4 separate regions of the Homo sapiens genome follow, and regions 1, 2 and 4 are each linked to region 3. The links are contacts of gene promoters, found by promoter capture Hi-C in blood cells and fetal thymus (Javierre and others, 2016). All regions are on one chromosome and are shown on one strand. Each heading gives the region's core, a stretch centred on a gene start or on the middle of the fragment in contact. The rest is flanking DNA. Distances are from core to core; before and after follow the strand shown.

Region 1 (2,855 bases), core at 25-2,524, 680 kb after region 3:
TGGTCAGTGGTAAATAAGTGAAGTCAGGTGCCAGAGAGTCTAGACACAGTGATTTCAGTCATGGGTCTTTGGTATCTGATACTCAATATGGGACTTGTCTGATTGAACACTATTGCCTCTTCATCGCACAGACTGAAGCCCTTTTAGTGCTTTTCTGGTAAATTAGTAAAAGATGACAATGGACATAGTTAAAACAGAACAAATCTAGTTTTAATATTTTCTAGTTGTCAGCAATTACACTTACTTTTGAAGTGCCATCATAGCAATCAAATTAAAGACATACTCTTTCATGTGGAGTTTGAACTAAACATTGCTTTTTTAAATTTGAAAGCTTTAATTAAAATTGAAATGTTTATCTCTCTTATTATGAAAAACTAATTCTATATCATTATGCATTCCATTTATATTTAGTCCTAATTTAGCTCGATATGGGGAATGGGAGTTGAGTAAGTTTTCGAGCCATGCATTATTTTCTAAAAATCTAGTTTCTGATTGTTTATTTCTAGGTAGAATTTAATATGGAAATTACTTTAGAGAAAATTTACCTTCTAAAATAATGACCTGTAGCCCTGTGTTTAAGGCTAATTTTCATACTACAAAGGTTGATTTGAAGTAAATACTTTTTGTTAGCAATAAATACTTTGCTTGAAACATTGCTTCAATGTAACCGATTCTCAGATTGAAAAAAATCTATGGTAGGTTTTTAATTACAGTTTAGAAAACATAGCAATTAATTAGAGGATTGTCACCTACATTTTTGGTAATTTGTAATTTAATTTTTATTGGCAATTTTATTTGTAATTTAATTTTTATTGGGCAGATAGGTAGTGAAATCTGTTAAATATATATCCAGTAAATTAAGATTATTTTACTTTTGCCCTTGAATCTTTTTTTATTCTGTGGCATTATTAAGTATTAATGATTCTTACCCAGAGATACTATCAGTGGTAATATTTGTGGTTAAAGATCTGCCCTCAAGGGGAGCATATGATACATGCCAGCCGTTCACCTGCTACAGTGTTTTGTAATTTTCAGCATACAGATCAGTGTATTTGCTTAGAATTATACCTAACAATTTGAGTGGTATTGTGTTTTTTATTTAATTTAATTTAACCAAATTTAATTTTGGTTTTCAGCTGTTCATTGCTAACACATAGAAATGTGATTGATTTTTGTATATTGACCACATATCATTTTTGAAATGCAGAAGTCATCTTGAACTAACAGTAATCAAAACAAGATTTAACAGAAAGAGGTCTAAAATAAATAAATATTTATTATTCGCTGTGTTGGATTCATGAAGGCATGAATCCAACATGTTCTAAAAAGGTATTGCCCTGAGATAAAACATAGTAAGTTTTTATATTATAAATTTTAGGAATAACTTCTATTTGTTGTTAACAATTTGGGCTGAGAAAAAACTCTCTTTATGTACTATACACTAAGTTAATTTGCTGATTTGACAATAATAGAAGACTAGCTTCTCCAAAACATAGCATAAAATTTGTTCATTTGTCCTTTATTATAGCAGCTGTTTCTCACCATGACAAATCTAGATTACTGCTAAATGGCATAGGTAGCCTACCTTTTCCTTCTTACCTTTTTGTCTGTTGTTTTTCAGACCCTCTTTCTTTTTCTCTTATCACTAAAAATGTTTTTTTCTCATTTTATACCCATGCCCAAGTGATTGGATTTAGCCTGCAGCTTCAGTTTTCAACCATATATGCCAGTTCCTAAAATTATACCTCTAGTCCAGACATTTCTTCTAAACTCAGGCCTGTGTTTATGACTTCCTACTGAATACCTGCACTAGACTATCACATAAGCAGCTTAAACTCAACATATCTAAAACCAAAATTACTATCTTTCCTTTAAAGTTTTTTTCTACCCTAGTTTCTCCTTTTCGGTAGATGTTGGCAGCACCATGTATGTCATTTCTCAGTGCATAAATCCAGAAGTCATCTTTGACTCCTCCACTCCTTTAACCATAACATCTAGTCAGTTACTACATTCCATTTTGGTTCTGTTTTCTAAATATATGTCTAATCAATCCTTTTATCTCTACCTAGTTCAGACACCCATCTTCTCACTTGGACTTTTCCTCTAGCATCCTACCTGGTTCCCCATATTTTCTTGCAATTTTATTCTATTTTCTACACTGGGTAAATCTTTTTGAGACACAAATTTTATCCTGACACTTTCCTATTTAGAAGCTTTTAGCAGCTTCCCATTATCCTTCTTAGCACGAAGGCCAAAATCTTTAACATGTACTTCAAGACCCTGCATGATCTGGTTTTTACCTTCTTATCTCTTAAAACTGTTGTTTCCCTTTCACCAACAATGCTTGCTTGCTTTTAATTCTTCAAAGAGTACTGTTTTTTCCTGCATTGTGACCTTTGCATAAGCTATTTTCTTTGCTTGGAATGCTCTGCTTCCAAACAATATGTTTAATTATTTAAGGACAGATGTTTTATCTAATATTTCTCTTATATTCTCCACTGTACTTAGAAGTTTATATTTAATGCTGAGCATCTAAGAGTTCATTAACTGTTTATTCATCCAGTTGTTGAACAGTGAACGCCTGCCAGTTTTATGTGTTGAAATGTAAATAATTATATTATGCCCAATGTACAATCTAAGATAACACATTATGATAAAAATATTGCTTCTGTGTTTGGTTTTTTGTCTTTGTTTCTTGAGTAAAATGTGCCCTGTGCTTCTTGCTAGTTAATGAAGATGCTGTTTGAATGTTCAGATGAACGAATTGACTTGGAACTCATTTCTTTCTGCATTAATCTTGCTGCTAACAAAAGAAATGTACAGCTTATCTGTGAAGGTCAGTGCCTTTGAGTGTA
Region 2 (2,785 bases), core at 135-2,634, 750 kb after region 3:
CCCACACAATATAAATGTTAAAGTCTTTCAGGCAGAAAAAAATGATACCAGATGAACTATGGATCTACACCAAATAATGAAGAGCATTGAAAATGGTAACTACATGGGCAAATATTCCCTAGCTTCCTAGTCTCACAGCCAGAAGCCCCTACCATGAATCATTTCTTGAGGTGAGAGGGGTTGGGGGGCGCAGGCAGGGGCAGGGGTGGAAGAGAAGAATTTCTACTTAAGTATTATCAGGACAAACGTCTGTGTGGCTAATTTTAGCTCTCCAGAAGAAAACTTCATTCTCATGGAAGTCTAGCAAACATTATTTTCAGGAAAACTGATTTATTCTCAAGAAGTGCAAATAATCACATAAGACCACAGAGTTCTGTCCCAGCTCATGTTGGGGATAATTGTCTTTCTCGTGCATTAGTAGAAATAAAATGATGCTTGCTCAAACACCAGCAACTTGTTTCACAAGTTGAGCGGTTCTCAAACATTACCTTAAATGAGAATCACCGGGTGGGCTTGCTGGGCCAGACTGGAATTGTTTGTGATTCAGCAGGTCTGAGATGGGGCTCAAAAACTTGCTTTTTTTTTTTTTGAGACGGAGTTTCACTCTTGTTGCCCAGGCTGGAGTGCAGTGGTATGATCTCAGCTCACTGCAACCTCTGCCTCCCGGGTTCAAGTGATTCTCCTGCCTCAGCCTCCTGAGTAGCTGGGATTACAGGCCCACCACCACCACACCCGGCTAATTTTTGCATTTTTTTAGTAGAGACGGGGTTTCACAATGTTGGCCAGGCTGGTCTGGAACTCCTGTCCTCAGAAGATCCACCCACCTCGGCCTCCCAAAGTGCTGGGATTACAGGCGTGAGCCACTTGCATTTCTAACAAGTTCCCAGGGGCTGCTGCTGGCTCCGGTCAAGGACCACACTTTGAGAACCACTGCGCTAGTTCGCAGTATGGGCCCTGTTGTTTATACTAGTATGCATTTTATGGAATCATCTGGGGAGCTTTAAAAATATATATATCCAACTCAAACCAATTAAATCATCTTTGGGGATGGAACACATGCATCACGTGGTTTAAAAGTTCTGCCAGGTCCCGACGGGCTGCCCGGCCGTGCACCGGGACCGGGTCGGGTGCAGAGAGCCCCTAGTCCTGGGAAATGGGGTGCAGCCGAAAAGGCAGCCACCCCCACGCCCTTCATACAAGGCACGTTCGTAGGGAACCTGGCGCTGAATCACTCAGAGACGACCTGCTTCTGGGTCGGGGTTTGGGGTTTCCTATGTAGCAGAGCAACTCTCTCGCTGAAATGTATTGAAAGTCAGCCCTGGACATATAAAAAATTTTTTTTAATTATTTCAAAAAAAATTCTGCCAGGTGATTTTAATGTGCAACCAGGGTTGAGAATTGCTAGTTCATAGGAAATTAACTGGTAGGTATATCTTCAGTATCTGAAACCAGTAAATACACAGGAATTCCCACATGAAACTTCTTGAAATGGCTGTGTGCTTGTTTATAGTTTAGGTATAGGTTCCTTAGTTATAGGTTCCTGTCCAGGTTATATGGGAGAGCAAGGATGTTGTGAGCATGAAATTCTTGTGCCAGTAGATACTACATCTGTATTATTTGTTCCAGCAGATGTGGCAGATGCTGATGTTATAATGTAACTACAATTACTGTTTGTAGTTCAGGCAACAGGACACAGGGGTTCTGCTTCCACATCAGATACATTGGTTGACCTAAAAGTAGCAACAGCAAAAGCTACCATCCTGAGTACCTACAAGCACACAATATAGTACACACAAAACCAGCTGCCGTAGTGGTAATCACTAATGGCTGTTGAGTTGCACAACTGGTCATAAATATTGTCATCATCCCTAATACAATTAAAAGTATAGTGTATATAGTGTAACAGTGTAGCCAAAATTGTCACCAAAGGGTAAATATAACTTTAGTCCATTATATCTTAGGCCTTTTTTTCTTAGCTTGTTCATCACCAGATGTGAGTCATCTGGTCTCTTAGTTACCTATTTCTGTTTCTGCCTTCACCACTACTTCCTTTTTGTTTTTTTGTTTTTGCTTTTTTTTTTTTTTTTTTTTTGAGATGAAGTCTCCCTCTGTCACCCAAGCTGGAGTGCAGTGGCGCAATCTTGGCTCACTGCAAGCTCCGCCTCCTGGGTTCAAGCGATTCTCCTGCCTCACCCTCCCAAAGTAGCTGGGACTACAGGTGCGTACCACCACACCTAGCTGTACTACTTCCATTTCTTTAATGCAAGTCTCTCTCTGAGTAATCAGGCCTCTAGTCCTGCAAAATAAGTGTTTGACACTAATAGAAGGTATTTATTCTAGCCTAAATAGCTATCCTCTCCTATCAGACAAGCTCATTTCCTCATTGGAGGGAAAACTCCTAGCAATGCTTCTTCTTTGCCTTGGGAATATATCCATTGAGTCCCATCAGCTAGAGGAAGGAGAAGAAAAACTGAATGCAATTAGGGACCCCACAAGCCTTTCTGAAAAGTAATTTTCCTCTTCTGCATCTGGTTGTGTACCATCACTTGATGCAGTATGGAAGTGCCTCAGATTCTCTCCAAGTGGTTGGAGTACCCTCTTTATATTCTTCATTTAATTCCCTAATCTATTGGATTCAGAGATGGAAATAACCCCTATTGTCCCAGTTTTCCTTTTTATAGGCTTGTGGTTCAAGTTAGAGCATCTATTTCATATATTTATAAACCTCTCCCTCATCAAGTTGGTATCTACATACATCAGCAGGGCTTTCTATAGTTACTTTTCC
Region 3 (2,898 bases), core at 257-2,756:
AGAGTCTGAAATAGGCAACGTTTTGTGAAAATCATAGAATGCTGGAGGGCCCCCCGGTTCCACGATTTCCAAATTTGAAGACAAAAATGGTAACCAGCAACTACTGACATAGAAAGCAACCAGCCTCATTTGAGAACTTACAGCTAAGTTCAGACTCTTGCAACCTCGAGGAGAAGAGGGAGTATCTGTACATATCTGGCCACATGTCACCTGGGATGAACAGGGTGACCGGTCTGTTACAGACTTGGGGGCATGGGGATACAATTGCAGTCTCTTTTTAAGGCACTAGCGAAGCGAGATTTTCATGGGTCGCGAGGTTGGTCGGTGAGGATGGGGAAGGGAAACTGGACTTTTCTGGGCGTTTAAGAGCCAATAGGGAGAGCTCCTCTAAGGTGACACTGGCCTCCGCACTGAAGCTCGCGCCTCCCGGATGCAGCTCGCCTGTGCGGGATCATGCGGGGCTGGATTTCAGGTTTCACCCTTAAAGGACATTCCCTTTGCTTGGCCCGAGTTTTCCCAAGCCAGCCGGGCTTTTGACTCTGCCAGTCTCAAACCCATTTGCGGTAGAGGCAACAGCAGGGGGCAGAGAGCAGCTCCAGCGTCTGGGGCCGGGCGTTCTCTCGGGGCCTCCCGGTCGCGCCCGGCCTTACGGTGCCCGCGTGGAGAGTGCAGCCTGAGCAGCGCCAAGTCCTGCTCCCTGTGCCTGGTGCCCTCCCTCAAGCCGTCATACGCTGCCCGAGAGAAGCCCTTCCAACCCGACTCAGCATCTTTAACCTGCTGCTTTCCCAAACAGCGCTGGCTCTCTGAGTTTGCACCCCGCTAAGACCTTTTCCCAGCCCAGCCCCGCCGCCCCGCGTGCGGGATGAACCGAGCCGGTGCCTAGCCGAAGTAAAGAGAGTCCGCCGCGGACAGAGTCCCTGCCTGAGACCGCAGGGCCTCGGAGTGTCCCCGGACCTTGGAGCCTCTCTCCAGCGTCCTCCTTGGCTATGCCCTCGGCCGAGACCCGCTTTTCTCATCTGGTTTCCCCTGTGACTGGCCCTTCCTTTGAAGTCTGCCATCACCTCTCCTGGTCCCAGGACCTTGTCTTTCTGGCCGCGGACGGGCTCTAGCTGCCCTACACGGGTCCCCGCCCTCTGTCCCGGGCACACACCCCCGTGGGCATGCGCCCCTCACTCACTGTCCTGCTGCGGGGTGTCGCTGCCGCTGGTGAGTCCCGGCGACTCCAGCAGGCTCCGGCCAGCCTCGCCCACGTTCTCATCCGCCTGTGCCGCCACCATGTCCCCGGCTTCCTCCAGGTCTAGCAGGTGACTGACGGAGAAGTTCTTTTTCGCCTGCAGGGTGTCGAGGTTGCCCGGGCTGTCCAAGCGGCCGCCCAGCGCCGGTTGCCGCTCCAGAACGTGCCCGTAGCTGGAGGTCATGGTCTCCCCCACCGATCCCACCCACCCCCCTCTTCCCGCTCGAATCAACACCAAACGCTGTGGGCGCGAGGGGGGAGAGGAGCCGAGTGGGGAAGAAAGAGGGGGGTAGTGGAGAGAGAGAGAGAGAGAGGGAGGAAGAGGGAGGGAAGGAGAGGAAGGCCAAAAAAAAAAAATTGGAAAAGAGGGTGGGGGACCCCCTTCTGTAGAGCAGAGCGTTGTGCACCAGCCGCCTTCCGCAGCATTGGTTGATTTCCTGAGGCCAAGTCCGGCGCGGTCCAAAGAGATAATCCACAGTAAAATACAATATTAAAAAGTCACCCTATGTTCAAGTCAGGAGAAAAAAATCCCTTCCAACTCTCCAAAAGTGTCCACACGCACAGACTAAAAATAATAACAAGGGGGAGAGAGGAAAGCGGAGGCCAGCAGGGCGGGGGAGTTAGGCAAACAGAAGAAGAGAGAAGAAGGGGTGGGAGAGAAGAATCAAAGTGAATGGTTTTTTTAAAGGTTAAAAAAGTTATTCCCAGGCAAGAGTTCAAGCACCAACAGAAGAAGGCTTGTTCCAGCTTTAAAACATCTTCAAGAAAACGTGTTCCCCCCTCTCTGCACTCCTGTGGATTCTCAGGAGTGACTAAAGTTTCAGGAGGAGAGGGTGATGTCTTGCAGATGTATTAGAGAGCAGGATTCTCACTTTACTTTTTGTAAAGAGTAAAAAAAAAAATTAAGAATTAAAAAAAAAAGGCTTCAAGAGTCCGACGGAGGGTGCTGGTGGGTTCCCCCCTTTCCCCTTCTCTCTCTCCCCCTCTTCTTGCTGGGCTCCTTTTTCCTTCTCAGTTGGATCAAGAAGCTCTCTGGCACTTCAAAAGGCACAAACTGGCATGCAGAGGAGGCTTTGTAGGGAATACAAGAAAATTGGAGACCCCTGGGAGGGCAGATCTCGACTTAATAGGAGCCTGTAATTACGTGGCAAAGCCTTTGTGCTGTGCCTGACGTTTCACAGACCCCCTTTCTCCATCACAATCTCCTTCTTCCTCCTTTCCCTGGGACCAAAAAACAGTCTGATTAAGAAAACCCCCTTTGCCAACATCAGAGTTAGAGAGAAAGGGAGAGGGAGGGAACAAGAGAGAGGGAGGGAGAGAGGGAGGGAGGGAGGGAGGAAGGGAGAGAGAGAGAGAGAGAAAGAGAGAAGAGAAATGAGAGAGGGAAGAGAGCAAGAGAGCCCCTTTGGATTTCTAAAGGTCTAATTATCATTCCCCTGCAATAATATCACGGGGAGAAAAGACAAACTGAAACTCACAGTCACTTCAAACGTGCTGATTATTTTGCTTCGGCATTAACTCCTCCAGATTTGTTTAAGATCCTGTTGGAAAATCTCATTTGCATGTTTTGATAACAGCTGTGGGGAAATTTGGAAAAAATCCACCACCATCACAATCAAATTTTCTTCTCCTTCTGCCTTCCCCCAAACCGCCCCCCCCCAAAA
Region 4 (2,700 bases), core at 7-2,506, 590 kb after region 3:
CTTTTATATTTTGTTTTTAACAAGACAGCAGATAGCAGTATATTTTCAGTCCCTTCCTACCTGAGTAATTCCATATTTTGGTTTTACAAAAATAATTTTTTTTGAATCTCTATGTGTTTTGGTGTTTGATTCTTACATGCCCTTCCTTTATCTGGAACTTGCCCTGTTCTTTGCCCCGCTAATTCCTCATCTTTCCTGTTTTGACATAAATACCACTTTTTCCAGAAAGCTTTCCTGAACTTCCCTTTCCCACCTCACAATCCAGGTCAGGTATACCTGTTAGGGTCTCATGATACTTAATACCTTGTTTTTCCCTAAACTTACTACTTTATATTTCCTTCTGGTTTATAAAGTTCATAAAGGTAGGTGCTATGTGTCTATCTTACTTCCCATTGTATTCCCAGCACTCAGCAAGGTGCCTGAAACATAGATTATTAAGTAAAGTCAGAATAAGACTAGAAAGAAATATGAGCCAAATCATATGGGACTTAAGCGCTTTAGTAAAGAGTTGAGACTTTATTTTGAGTGCATTGGTGAACTATTGAAGGATATTAAAAGTGAACAACATTTGTTCATTCATTTAATAGTTGAGATTCTACTGTGTAAAAGTCATTAAGCCAAGTGATAAAACATATTTGGTAAATGAAACATAAATATATTCCCTGCCTTCATGGCATTTACACTCTAGCAAGTAATACAGACTTTAAAATATACTGATATTTATTGTATTTATGAGTGCTATATGAAAAAAGTGTGTGGCTTTTGTGTCAAGCATTTCTCACATGGTATATCAAGGTCCATCTGTGTGGTAGCATGTATCAGTACTTCATTCCTTTATATAGCTGCATAATATTTGCTGTGGTTTGGATATAGTTCGTTTCCACCAAAGCTCATGTTAAAACTTGGTCCCCCATTGTGGCAGTGTTGGGAGCTGGAGCCTGGGAGGTGTTTCAGTTTTGGGGGTGGATCCCTCATGAATGGCTTGGTGCTGTTCTTGCTGGAGTGAGTGAATTCTTGCTCTAGTGAGACTGGATTAGCTCTCTTGGGAATGGATTAGTTCCCTCTAGAGTTGGTTGTTATAAAGCCAGGAAGACCCTTGGGTATTCTCTTTTCTCACTTCCCCTTTGATCTTGTCCACTGTGTTATAATGAAGCACAAAAGCCCTCACTGGAAGCCAGAGTCATGCCCTTGAACTTCCCAGCCTGCGGAACTGTAAGCTAAATAAACCCCTTTTCCTTATAAATTACCTAGTCTCAGGTATTGTGTTATAGCAACATAAAATTGACTAATTCAGTATTCCATTTTATGGATATACCACATTTTGTTTGTTTATTGCTCATCTGGTGGTGGACATTTGGGTTGTTTCTACCTATTGGCTATTGGGAATAAAGCTGCTGTGAACATTACTGTACAAGTTTTTGTTTGAACACTTGTTTTGTATCTTTTGGTGTATACCTAGGCCTGGAATTGCCAGACCATATGGTAATTCTATGTTTAATTCATTGAGGAACCACTAAAGTGTTTTCCCTAGTGACTGCACCATTTTACATTCCCACCAGCAATGTATAAGAATTCAGTTTTCCGTATCCTCACTAACACCTGTTATTTTCTGTTCTGTAATTATTACTATACTAGTGGATATCAAATGGTATCTTATTTTGGTATTGATTTGCCTTTCCCTAATTACTAATGACATTGAGCTTTTCATGTGCTTCTTGGCCATTTGTCTTTATTCTTTGGGAAAAGGAGTTCTTTGTAATAGAACCTTGTCAGATACATGATTTACAGATACTTTGTCCCATTCTGTGGGTTTTCTTTGCACTATCTTGGTATGTAAAACTTTCATATGCAAACATTTTTAATTTTGGTGAAGTCTAATTTATTCTTTTGTTGCTCATGCTTTTGGCATCGTTATTTAAGAAACCACTGCTAAATCCAAGGTCATGAAGGTTTGTCCCTCTGTTTTCTTCTAAGAGTTTTACAGTTTTAGCTTTTACATTTAATATCCTTGATCCATCTCGAGTTAGTTATTGTCTATGGTATATGGCAAGGGTCCATCTTCATTCTTTTATATGTGACTATCTAGTTGTTCTGACATCATTTGTCAGAACAAATGTCAGAAAAGAACAATTGACTGTTCTTTTCCTCCATGAATGGTTTGGGCAATTTTTTTGAAAATTAAATGACCAAAAATGTTGGGGTTTATTCCTGCACTCTCAATTATATTTCATTGATCTATCTGTCCGTGTGCTAGTACCTCACTGTTTTGATTACTGAAGCTTTGTAGTGAGTTTTGAAATCCAGAAGTGTGAGTCCTCCAACTTTGTTGTTCTTTTTCAAGGTTGTTTCAGCTATTTAGGGTTCCTTATATTTCCATTTGAATTTTAGGGTTGGCTTTTTCATTTCTGCAAAAAAAGCTATTGAAACTTTGGGAATATAATGAATCTATAGATCACTTTGGGGAATATTGCCATCTTAACAATATTAAGTCCTTCAGTCCATGAACATGTGATTTCTTTTCATTTAGTTCATATTAATTTCTTTCAGCAACTTTTTGTTTTCAGTATACAGTTGTTCCTTGGTTACGTTTACTCCTGAGTATTTTATTCTTTTTGATGCTATTGGAAATGAAGTTTTCTAAATTTCCTTTTCATATTTTTCAGCTCCAATATGTAGAAAAACAGTGGATTTTTTTGGTGT

The links. The method cuts DNA at HindIII sites, captures the fragments that hold promoters and counts their contacts. A CHiCAGO score of 5 or more calls a contact.
Region 1: a fragment that was not itself captured here is called in contact with the fragment with the promoter of PRRX1 in region 3 in 1 of 17 cell types (erythroblasts); the score reaches 7.2 in erythroblasts.
Region 2: a fragment that was not itself captured here is called in contact with the fragment with the promoter of PRRX1 in region 3 in 2 of 17 cell types (M1 macrophages and endothelial precursors); the score reaches 6.9 in M1 macrophages.
Region 4: a fragment that was not itself captured here is called in contact with the fragment with the promoter of PRRX1 in region 3 in 1 of 17 cell types (M0 macrophages); the score reaches 5.6 in M0 macrophages.

The regions. Positions count from the first base shown.
Region 1 is chr1:169,984,563-169,987,417 of GRCh38, reverse strand. It overlaps KIFAP3 (kinesin associated protein 3), which reads left to right. Exons shown (of 20, transcript NM_014970.4): 12 at 2,728-2,836. Among named protein-coding and RNA genes, the nearest start is that of KIFAP3, 89 kb to the left of the region's middle. The HindIII fragment of the contact is 1,882 bases long and covers 334-2,215 here.
Region 2 is chr1:169,908,093-169,910,877 of GRCh38, reverse strand. No RefSeq gene overlaps it. Among named protein-coding and RNA genes, the nearest start is that of SCYL3, 16 kb to the right of the region's middle. The HindIII fragment of the contact is 3,795 bases long and covers 1-2,785 here.
Region 3 is chr1:170,662,739-170,665,636 of GRCh38, reverse strand. PRRX1 (paired related homeobox 1) reads right to left here and starts at 1,506. Exons shown (of 4, transcript NM_022716.4): 1 at 1,178-1,506. The coding sequence starts at 1,418. RefSeq lists enhancers at 13-873, 2,074-2,601. The HindIII fragment of the contact is 9,244 bases long and covers 1-2,898 here.
Region 4 is chr1:170,069,989-170,072,688 of GRCh38, reverse strand. The region is part of intron 1 of KIFAP3 (kinesin associated protein 3); the gene reads left to right. Among named protein-coding and RNA genes, the nearest start is that of KIFAP3, 3.4 kb to the left of the region's middle. The HindIII fragment of the contact is 2,050 bases long and covers 232-2,281 here.